Linked DNA regions of Homo sapiens: all the other regions are linked to region 1. The links are contacts of gene promoters, found by promoter capture Hi-C in human tissues and cell types (Jung and others, 2019). All regions are on one chromosome and are shown on one strand. Each heading gives the region's core, a stretch centred on a gene start or on the middle of the fragment in contact. The rest is flanking DNA. Distances are from core to core; before and after follow the strand shown.

Region 1 (3,208 bases), core at 229-2,728:
TAATCCCAATACTTTAGGAGGCCAAGGCAGGAGATTTGCTTGATCCTCCCAGGAGTTAGAGATCAGCCTGGGCAACATAGCAAGATCCTGTTTCTATAAAAAATACATTTTTAAAAATTGGCCAGCCGGGCGCAGTGGCTCACACCTGCAATCCCAGCGCTTTGGGAGGCTGAGGTGGGTGGATCACCTGAGGTCAGGAGTTCGAGACCAGCCTCACCAACGTGGAGAAACCCTATCTCTACTAAAAATACAAAATTAGACAGGTGTGGTGGCACATGCCTGTAATCCCAGCTACTCAGGAGGCTGAGGCAGGAGAATCACTTGAACCCAGGAGGTGGAGGTTGCGGTGAGCCAAGATCGAGCCATTGTACTCCAGCCTGGGCAACAAGAGTGAAAACTCCGTTTCAAAAAAAACAAAAAAAAAATTGGCGGGGGTGCCAGGCACGGTGGCACATGCCTGTAATCCCAGCACTTTGGGAGGCCAAGGCGGGTGGATCACTTGAGATCAGGAATTTGAGACCAGCCAAGCCAACATGGTGAAACCCCGTCCCTACTAAAAATACAAAAATTAGCTGGCCGTGGGGCACATGCCTGTAATCCCAGCTACTTGGGAGGCTGAGGCAGGAGAATCGCTTGAACCCAGGAGGCGGAGGTTGCAGTGAGCCCAGATCACGCCACTGCACTCCAGCCTGGACAACAAAGGAGACTCCATCTTAAAAAAAAATTAATTAAATAAATTTTAAAAATTAGCCGGAGCATGGTGTTGTGTGCCTGTGGTTCCAGCTACTGGGAAGGCTGAGGTGGGAGGATTAACTGAACCTGGGAGTTTGAGGCTCCAGTTAGCTGTGAACTGACCTCCCTGGGTGACATATATATATTTAAGCCACTGAGCTGTGAAGGTTGTGAAGGTATGTGAGTTATGTCTTGAAAAATACACACATAGTGAGCGCCAAATCCCGGGAGTAGTGTTTAAGTGGCGGGCTTGTCAGCTGTCAAGGGCTCTGCAGCCCTTTCTCTGAATCCAAGTTCTTCTTCCTGTGGACAGGGAACCCAGGCTGCGAACTGGGAGGATGTGGCCTCGTGGGGGGCAGGGCCAGCGTGCTGTGATGGGGATGGGGCTGGGCAGGTTGGGGCTGCCTGCTACTCCCCACTCCTGACTCTGGGTGGGGACAGAAGGCAGAGGGAGGCTCCTGGCACCTGGGGCACAGGAATCTCAGGCATGTGGTCCTGAGCCTGTTTCCAAAAGCCAGACCCTCCTCCCCAGGGCGGAGAGACTGGGAGGGGCCCCAATCCAGGCTCCGGGATGGCCTGGCTGGCATCTGGGGTTCCAGTGGCCCCTCTCCCTTGGCCCTGGCAGTGGGGCTGGATACTGGCCTGCCTCCCACCAGAGTCCCCCCAGCTCCTCCCTGCTGTGGGCTGGCCTGGGAGGAAGGGGGTGGGGTGCACTTACATTTGCAGGTCTTTCCAGCCCCTGGGGCAGCCTGATTAACCAGCTTCTCCAGGGCCAAGCTGTTGGGGGTGAGGTGCAGCCCGAAGCAGCCAGACCAGCCCCTGAGCCTCCCGGGTGCTGGCAGCTGTCATGGGGCTACCCTGGGGGCAGCCTCACCTAGGGCTGCAGATGCTCCTCCTGGCGTTGAACTGTCTCCGGCCCAGCCTGAGCCTGGGTGAGTGGGGGTCCTGGATGGACGCGTCCAGCCAGACCCAAGGGGCTGGGGGCCCTGCTGGAGTGATTGGACCCTGGGCGCCCGCCCCCCTCCGATTGGGAGAGGCAGCCCCAGGGACCCCCACGCCCGTCTCCGTGGCTCACCTTTTGTCCCCCGTGGCCACAGAGCTGGTGCCCTACACACCACAGATAACAGCTTGGGACCTGGAAGGGAAGGTCACAGCCACCACCTTCTCCCTGGAGCAGCCGCGCTGTGTCTTCGATGGGCTTGCCAGCGCCAGCGATACCGTCTGGCTCGTGGTGGCCTTCAGCAATGGTACGGGGACTGCTGTGGGGCCTGGGTGAGGGTGACGGCTGAGGAGAGTGGTGGGCCCTAGGAGCCCCTCACCAGCAAGCGCCTTCAATGATTGAGCCCCTGTGGGGGCCTTTGGGAGAGTAGGTGTGGATGAATTGGGCTTTATCTAAAGGGGTAATATGTGTATTGAAAAATACACACGTAGTGAACACCAAATCCCGGGAGTAGTGCTAGTGGTGGGTTTGTCAGCTGTCAAGGGCTCTGCAACCCTTTCTCTGAATCCAAGTAGTTCTTCCTTTGGACAGGGAACCGAGGCTGCGACCTGGGAGGATGTGGCCTCCTGTGGGGCAGGGCCGGTGCACTGCAATGGGGCTGGGGCTGGGGCTGGGCAGGTTGGGACTGCCCGCTGCTCCCCACTCCTGGCTCTGGGTGGGGACAAAAGGCCAGAGGGAAGCTCCCCTTCAGGGGTAACAAAGTCGACTGGGTCTGGACTATCTCTGGGGGCCCTGAGGGAGGAGGTGGCATGGGGGGTCAGGGCTGGAGACTGGGCGAACACAGAACCCCCACTCATAAGGACAAAGCTGCTTTCTCCCCTCCCACCTCCATCTGTTCTCTCCTCCTGCAGCCTCCAGGGGCTTCCAGAACCCGGAGACACTGGCTGACATTCCGGCCTCCCCACAGCTGCTGACCGATGGCCACTACATGACGCTGCCCCTGTCTCCGGACCAGCTGCCCTGTGGCGACCCCATGGCGGGCAGCGGAGGCGCCCCCGTGCTGCGGGTGGGCCATGACCACGGCTGCCACCAGCAGCCCTTCTGCAACGCGCCCCTCCCTGGCCCTGGACCCTATCGGTGGGTGGTCCCCACCGGAGCCCTGGGACTGGGGCTGTGCTTGGGGCGGACGCATTGCTGGGACCAGGGATGCTCTCTCTAGCATCTTTCCAGGGAGGGGTCCCCGGCCCCGGTCCTCCCCTTTGCAAGCCCGGGCTCCTTCCACTGTAGAGTCAGCAACAGTGCTCACCCCCGCTGGGGCCGGGCAAGGCCCAGGAGGAGCAGGTGGGCACCTTGGGGAGGCGGGATCTTAGTCAAGGTGGGAGGGGGCAGCTTCCCCAAAGTCTAGGCCCCTGTCCCCCACCACGGGCAGATCTGGCAGGAAACTCGGGGGCCGAGTTCAGACCCAGTCTCGTCGGTATTAGGCAGGGAGCAGGAGAGGTGGCTCCTACCCGCTCTTACAGATGAGGAAACTGAGGC
Region 2 (3,005 bases), core at 435-2,934, 620 kb after region 1:
AACAAAGAATTCAGCAATTTAGCTTAAGAGAAAAGCCATAAGAATTTAACTTTCTGAATTATAAACTATTTAAAAAGAGATATATCTTATGACTTCTATTATTCTTATGAAATATTAATAAACTCAACAATCTTAACTAATAACTATCAACATTGAGAAGTATTTAATGAATATATATAGGTACTAATTCTATTTGAAATCTCTATGTGAAACTGCAAATAGACAGTTTTATTTCTTCCTTTCTCATCTGTATGGCTTTTCTTTCCTAGTGTTATTGCACTGGCTAAGACCGCCACTACAATATTGAGTTGGAGTGGCAAAAGCAAAAATCCTTGATTTATTTCCTATTTATGAGGGAAATTTCAACAACAATTAGGAAGTTAGCAGTAGATTTTTAAAGATGCCCTTTAGCAAGTTAAGGAAGTTTACTTTCTAATTTGCTTAGACTTTTTATCATAAGTGAATGTTGCATTTTGTCAAATGCTTTTTCTGTATCTATGAAGATGATCATATTGTTTTTCTTCTGATTTATTGATATGTGTATTACAGTGATTGATTTTCAAGTGTTTCATTCCCTCAATAAGCTACATTTCATCATGTTATTGTCAGGGAGTTTTGGGTTGTCAATTTCCTGGCCAGAAACCTCTGTGGCCACAGCACCTTTGCCCGAATTCTTGTCCTGCATCCAGGAAGAATGAGGTACGCAGACAAGTGAAGGGTGAACGAGACGAAGATGAGCTTTATTAAGTGTTACAAGAGCTCAGAGGAGACCCACAGTGGGTAGCTCCTCTCTGTAGGAAGATCATCTGTCCAGCATTCAGTTCTCATTAGAGAGGTGGCCCTGGAGAGGGTAGCTCCTCTCTACTACTGGTTGTCCCAATGTCTGCAGCTCTCAGTGGAGAGGAGGCCCTGGAGAGGGTGCCTCCTGTCTGCTGGCAGGTTGTCTCTGAAGCTCTCGGCAGAGACGGTAGCTCCTTTCTGCAGCTGGTCCTTGTGTAGTCTGTCTATCCTCTTCGTCCTTTGGCCATCGTCTGCCCTGCTCTGGCTGAGCCCAGGGCTTTTATGGACCTCAGAGGGGAGGAAGTGCATGCTGATTGGTCCATGGGCAGCCATGGGCTGCTGGAAGAGGCCCCATGAGTCCCCAAACTGGTATGCAGGACCAGCAGTTGGCCCCCAGCCTTCAGGCCCTCCCTGGACTGAAGGTAGAGCCTTACTGGGGACCTGCCCCCTTCCACCCAAGAATCTGTCTGCCTCCCGCTGCCATTCATGGCCCCAGGGCTCAACCCCAACCCCACTCCAAGATCTGAGCCAGCTCCAGGAGAGGAGAGAGGTCAGGCAGCGGGAGCAGACACCCCAAGCCTGCAGGGATGGGGGGCCTTCCGGGGCACCAGAGGGTACAGGCTGCAGAGATGCCTGGGTCCCGTGGGTGAGAGGGCAGTGGCAGCTGCACCCAGGGAGCTCCCGCAGGCCAACTCAGCAGGGGCGGGATTCCCCAGCTCCTGCCTGCTCCATGTTGTGGGAGGCCCAGGTCAGCAGCTGCTGGTCAGGCGGCTGCAGCTGCACCCAAGAGGGCAGATCCTGCCTGTTCCCAGCCCCACTTCAAGAGCGCAGGGAGGCTCAGATCTACAGCTGCAGTTTGGGCGGCTGTAGCACCGTCCAGGAGGGTGGGGCTCCTGACTGCCCCATGGAGTGGGAGGCCTGGGTCTGCAGTCTCAGCCTTTCCTCCCTACTGCAGCCAGCGTGATGGCACCAGCCACTGCCATCATTATCTTTTCTATAAATTGCTAGATTCAACTTGCTAAATTTGTGAGGATTTTTACATTTTATTTTCATGAAGGATATTGGTCCAAAGTATTCTTTCATGTCTTTTTCTGGTTTTGATATTAGGGTAAAATTAGAAGGGCAAATGTTGCCTCTTTTATTTTATGGAAGATTGTTAGAATATTGTTAATATGGTTTAGTTTTATTTGTCCTGCTCAGAAGTCAATACGCTTTCTTTGTCTAAAGTCTCCAATTTATAAACCTTCAGCGTTTCCTTGCTCTTTCTATTCTTTACTTTTGGAGCTCTCATTTAGACATGTATTTTAATTTCTCATTCTGTCATCCATATCCCTTAACTGTGTTTATATGATTTATGCCTCTTCATCTTTTCGTATTTCATTCTGGATGATTTCCTCAAATCTATGTTCTAATTCATTAATTCCTTCCCAATCTTTGCTAATCCATTGTTTAATATCTGCATTGAATTTTTCATCCCAATGACTATATTATCATTTCTAGAATATTTATTTGGTTCTTTAAAAAATCTATTTTCTCTTATTTTAAACTGCTCCGTTTATTTTACTGTGGTTTCTTTACCTTCTCTTGCCTTTTTAATTATTTTAAACATACTGATGCAAAATTATTCTAGTCTGTTCTGTTATGAGGTTGCTGTTTCTCTTTTGCTACATAAACAAACTCTGTTTCATGGTGGTTTATTTCTTGTCATGGCTTATAAATTTTTATTTATAGCTCATCTTCAGCGGGAGTTCTCTTTTCTGAAAATCCTTTACATTCTAGATTACAATAAAATTTTTCTTGTTCCCTGTAGAACAATTTTGGATTTGCTTCAGTCAGAACTCGACCAATTTCCATGGTCATGGGCCAGGTTTTCGATTTTTATTTCCTTTTATTTTTGCTTCATTTCCTTCTGTGCAAAGTAATTCATTCATACAAAAGAATAAAGTATGAATAAAGTCTAAAGAATAATAGTAAAAAGAACATCTTTATGCCTAACACCCAGTTTAAGAAATAAGACATACCAATAAGTTTCAGTTTCCTTGTTTCTTTTTTCCTCCTTTATCTTCTGGCTTTCACTTAAAAGCAGGCTGAATTGAGAACTGTGTAGAAGAAAAGGGGCTCCTGCCACACAGAAATTGTAGGGAAATCCCGATTTTTTTCTTTCCGTTTTGGTCTGCTGGCCCTGCCACAAAGCCAGCTCCAAACATAGATTTGCACTGCCACTG
Region 3 (3,316 bases), core at 295-2,794, 720 kb after region 1:
CAGGTATCCGTGGTCAACTATGGTCCAAAAATATTAAGTGGAAAATTCCAGAAGTAAACAATCCATAAGTTTAAATTGCATGCTATTCTGAGTAGTGTGATAAAATCTCTCATGTTCCCACACCATCCCACCTGAAATGTGAATCATCCCTTTGTCCAGCATGTACACACTGTGTATGCTACCCACCCATTAATCACTTAGTGGCTGTCTTAGTTACCAGGTCCACTGTTGCAGGATTGCTGTGCTTGTCTTCAAGTTACCCTTATTTTACTTAATAATGGCCCCAAAGCACAAGATCAGTGATAGTGGCAATTTGGATACGCCAAAGAGAAGCCATAAAGTGCTTTCTTTAAGTGAAAAAGTGAAAGTTCTCAATTTAATAAGGAAAGAAAAAAAAGTTTGCTGAGATTGCTAAGATCTACAGTAAGAACAAATCTTATCTGTGAATTGTGAAGAAGGGAAAATAAATTTGTGCCTAGCATAAATGGGTTTGGTACTATCCATTCAGGGATCCTCCTGGGGTCTTGGAGCACATCCCCCATGAATAAGTGGGCACTACTGCCTTCTCTACTGATCTACAAGTTTACCGATTGATTCTTCTGCTTGCTCAAATCTACTGTTGAACTCCTCCAGTGAATTTTTCAATTATGATTTTCTACTTAGGAATTTCAGTGTAGCTCCTTAAAAATTTCTTCTTACTGACAATCTCTATTTGATGCATTGTCATCATACTCTCCTTTAATTTTTAAAACATGGTTTCTTTCATTCTTCAAACATATTTATAATATTTTCTTTGAAGTCTTTGTTAAATCTAACGTCTGCATCCTCCCTAAGAAAGTTTCTGCCTGTTGTTGTTGTTTTTTTTTTTTTTCCTCTGCAGAAAGGAACTGGGGATCTCACTATATGGGATGGGGGTCATATTTTCTTGTTTCCTTGCAAGTCTCATAATTTTTCATTGTAAATTGGACATTTTAGGTCATATATTGTAACAACTCTGGATTCTGATCCTTCCCAGGCTTATTGATGCTGTTTTGTTCTTGTTATTGTTGTTCATCTATTTATTTGTTTAGTGACTTGGCTGGACTAATACTGTGAAGTATATTTTTCCCCCGCAGTAGGCAGCCTCTAATGTCTCTGCTTAGATAGTTGTTCCTTGTTTTTTTGTTTTTAAACTTGAATTCCTGGGTGTTGCCCTCGGTCAGTCACTGATTGGTCAGAGGTCACGCTTAAGCTCACTGAGCCAGTAAGGTTTTCATCCTTTTCCACTGGGTCTGTGTGTGGCTTGGGAACAACTTTTGGAGTTCGAGGAGTTTATATATCTGCCACTTTTAACTCAGGGACTGACTTGGAAGTACCCTGTCTGGTTGATCTTGGGTGGTCACAGCCGTGGGCTTTTCCACAGTCTCCTGGACCACCAGTATCAAGTGTGAATTTTTTTACTGTCCCTCGTCCCAATTTCTCTGTTAAACTTCTGCTGGTCTGCATCTATTAGCATCACAAAACTATTAGCCTACTCTGTTAGCCCTTATGATATCTGTTTTTCTATGTCTGTTATTTTTTACATTGCTCTGGGACATGAATATCCTACACTCTGTTCCAAATAAAGTCAAAGGCAGGGCTGCAGAGCTGCAAGTCCTCACAGCTTGCTCAGCCCCCAACCTGGTTAGAGCCTCTGTGTTACTGAGCAGGAGCTGGGGATATGGGGAACTCTGATCTGTTTTGTTTGCCCTGCCCAGGGTCTCCCTGTAGAGCAGGACATTAGGGAGTGAGTACTGGCACTACCGAACAGCTACAGCTGCCCATGGGGAAGAAGGGGAGGATGAGTGCTGAGTGCTACCGTTTCTTAGATCTTCACCTGGGATAGATCTTGATCCTCAGCAATAGGAAAGTGGGGGACATGGGCACCTCACTGGCTGCAAGCCTGCCCAGAATAGTTCTGAAACCTGAAGCTAGAGGGATGGATGCAGCCCATGGTTCAAATGCCACAGTTTCTTGCTGAGCTTCAGTAGATTTTATTGAATAAGTGTTTCTCAATTTATTATATAACCTTAGGTCAATTTCCAGAGACTTTAAATGGTTGTCTCAGATTATTTTGACCAGTTAAATCAATGCTTCTTTTGTTTCTTTTGTTTGTTTTTTTTTTTTTAGACGGAATCTCACTCTGTCACCCAGGCTGGAGTGCAGTGGCGTGATCTCAGCTCACTGCAACCTCTGCCTCTGGGGTTCAAGCGATTCTCCTGCCTCAGCCTCCCAAGTAGCTGGGACTACAGGCATGCGCCACCATGCCCAGCTAATTTTTTTTGTATTTTTAGTAGAGATGGGGTTTCATCATGTTGGCCAGGCTGGTCTCAAACTCCCGACCTCAGGTGATCTGCCCGCCTCAGCCTCCTAAAGTGCTGGGATTACAGACGTGAGCCACAGTGCCCGGCCAAATCAATGTTTCTTTGAAGGAGAGAATTCATCAAACTCTTCATCCCACCATTTTGGAAGTCCCACCCACCCCCTGGATTGGTCTGTAATTTATAATTTTACTTATTTGCTTTAAATCAGCAGCCCCCCAACCTTTTTGACACCAGGGACCAGTTTCGTGGAAGACAATTTTTCCGTGGGGCAGAAGGAATGCTTTTGGGATGAAACTGTTCCACCGTAGATCATCAGGCATTACATTCTCCTAAGGAGTGCACAACCTAGATCCCTCACATGCGCATTTCACAATGGGGTTTATGCTCCTATGAGAATCTAATGCCACTGCTGATCTGTCAGGAGGCAGAGCTCAGGTGGTAATGCTCACTTGCCCGCTGCTCATCTCCTGCTGTGCAGCCCAGTTCCTAAAGCCCAGGGGCTGGGAACTCCTGCTTTAACTTGCAATATTAAAACATTGCAAAATGCCAAATACAATCATTTACTTAAAATAAAACTGCAGAATGTAGTTTCAGTATTCTATCATTTTTTTTTTTTGTATCTATCTCTTCAAACTTTGGCCTACCTTAAGGCAGAGCCTATGTTATATTCATTTCTGTTTTTTTTATGCAGGGAGCATTAAGTAGGAAGTAATGGTCTTTTTAGCTTAAGAACAAAACTAAATACTATCTGTTTTTTTGAATATTTGAGTCCACAATTACCTTACCCAGTAGTTTACCTTCAGAAAATGGCTGGTTAGCTAGTTACTGGGCTAGCCCCTAGTTGGTCTTCATTGTACCCATATACATACAAACACACACTCACATATTTACCTTTTCATAATCTTTTCCCAGCAACTTTTCTCCTTTAAGTGTGTCCATTTGTAAAGGCTTTTTTTTTTTTTAACTTATTAGAT

What was found. The method cuts DNA at HindIII sites, captures the fragments that hold promoters and counts their contacts. A contact is called where the count stands out against the background at its distance.
Region 2: a contact is called between a fragment that was not itself captured here and the fragment with the promoter of UPK3B in region 1, in 1 of the 25 tissues and cell types used here (dorsolateral prefrontal cortex).
Region 3: a fragment that was not itself captured here is called in contact with the fragment with the promoter of UPK3B in region 1 in 1 of the 25 tissues and cell types used here (spleen).

What each region holds. Positions count from the first base shown.
Region 1 is chr7:76,509,074-76,512,281 of GRCh38, forward strand. UPK3B (uroplakin 3B) reads left to right here and starts at 1,479. Exons shown (of 6, transcript NM_001347684.2): 1 at 1,479-1,664; 2 at 1,830-1,979; 3 at 2,584-2,809. The coding sequence starts at 1,580. It overlaps LOC124901675 (a long non-coding RNA gene), which reads right to left and starts at 1,660. Exons shown (of 2, transcript XR_007060388.1): 1 at 1,451-1,660; 2 at 1-1,035. RefSeq lists a silencer at 1-66 and enhancers at 944-1,516, 1,517-2,089, 2,843-3,208. The HindIII fragment of the contact is 20,174 bases long and covers 1-3,208 here.
Region 2 is chr7:77,125,705-77,128,709 of GRCh38, forward strand. The region is part of intron 1 of CCDC146 (coiled-coil domain containing 146); the gene reads left to right. LOC124901678 (a long non-coding RNA gene) reads right to left here. Exons shown (of 3, transcript XR_007060391.1): 2 at 2,802-3,005; 3 at 802-1,068. Among named protein-coding and RNA genes, the nearest start is that of CCDC146, 4.6 kb to the left of the region's middle. RefSeq lists an enhancer at 2,987-3,005. The HindIII fragment of the contact is 7,185 bases long and covers 1-3,005 here.
Region 3 is chr7:77,230,962-77,234,277 of GRCh38, forward strand. The region is part of intron 2 of CCDC146 (coiled-coil domain containing 146); the gene reads left to right. All of the region lies in intron 1 of CCDC146-AS1 (CCDC146 antisense RNA 1), which reads right to left. Among named protein-coding and RNA genes, the nearest start is that of CCDC146-AS1, 16 kb to the right of the region's middle. The HindIII fragment of the contact is 8,636 bases long and covers 1-3,316 here.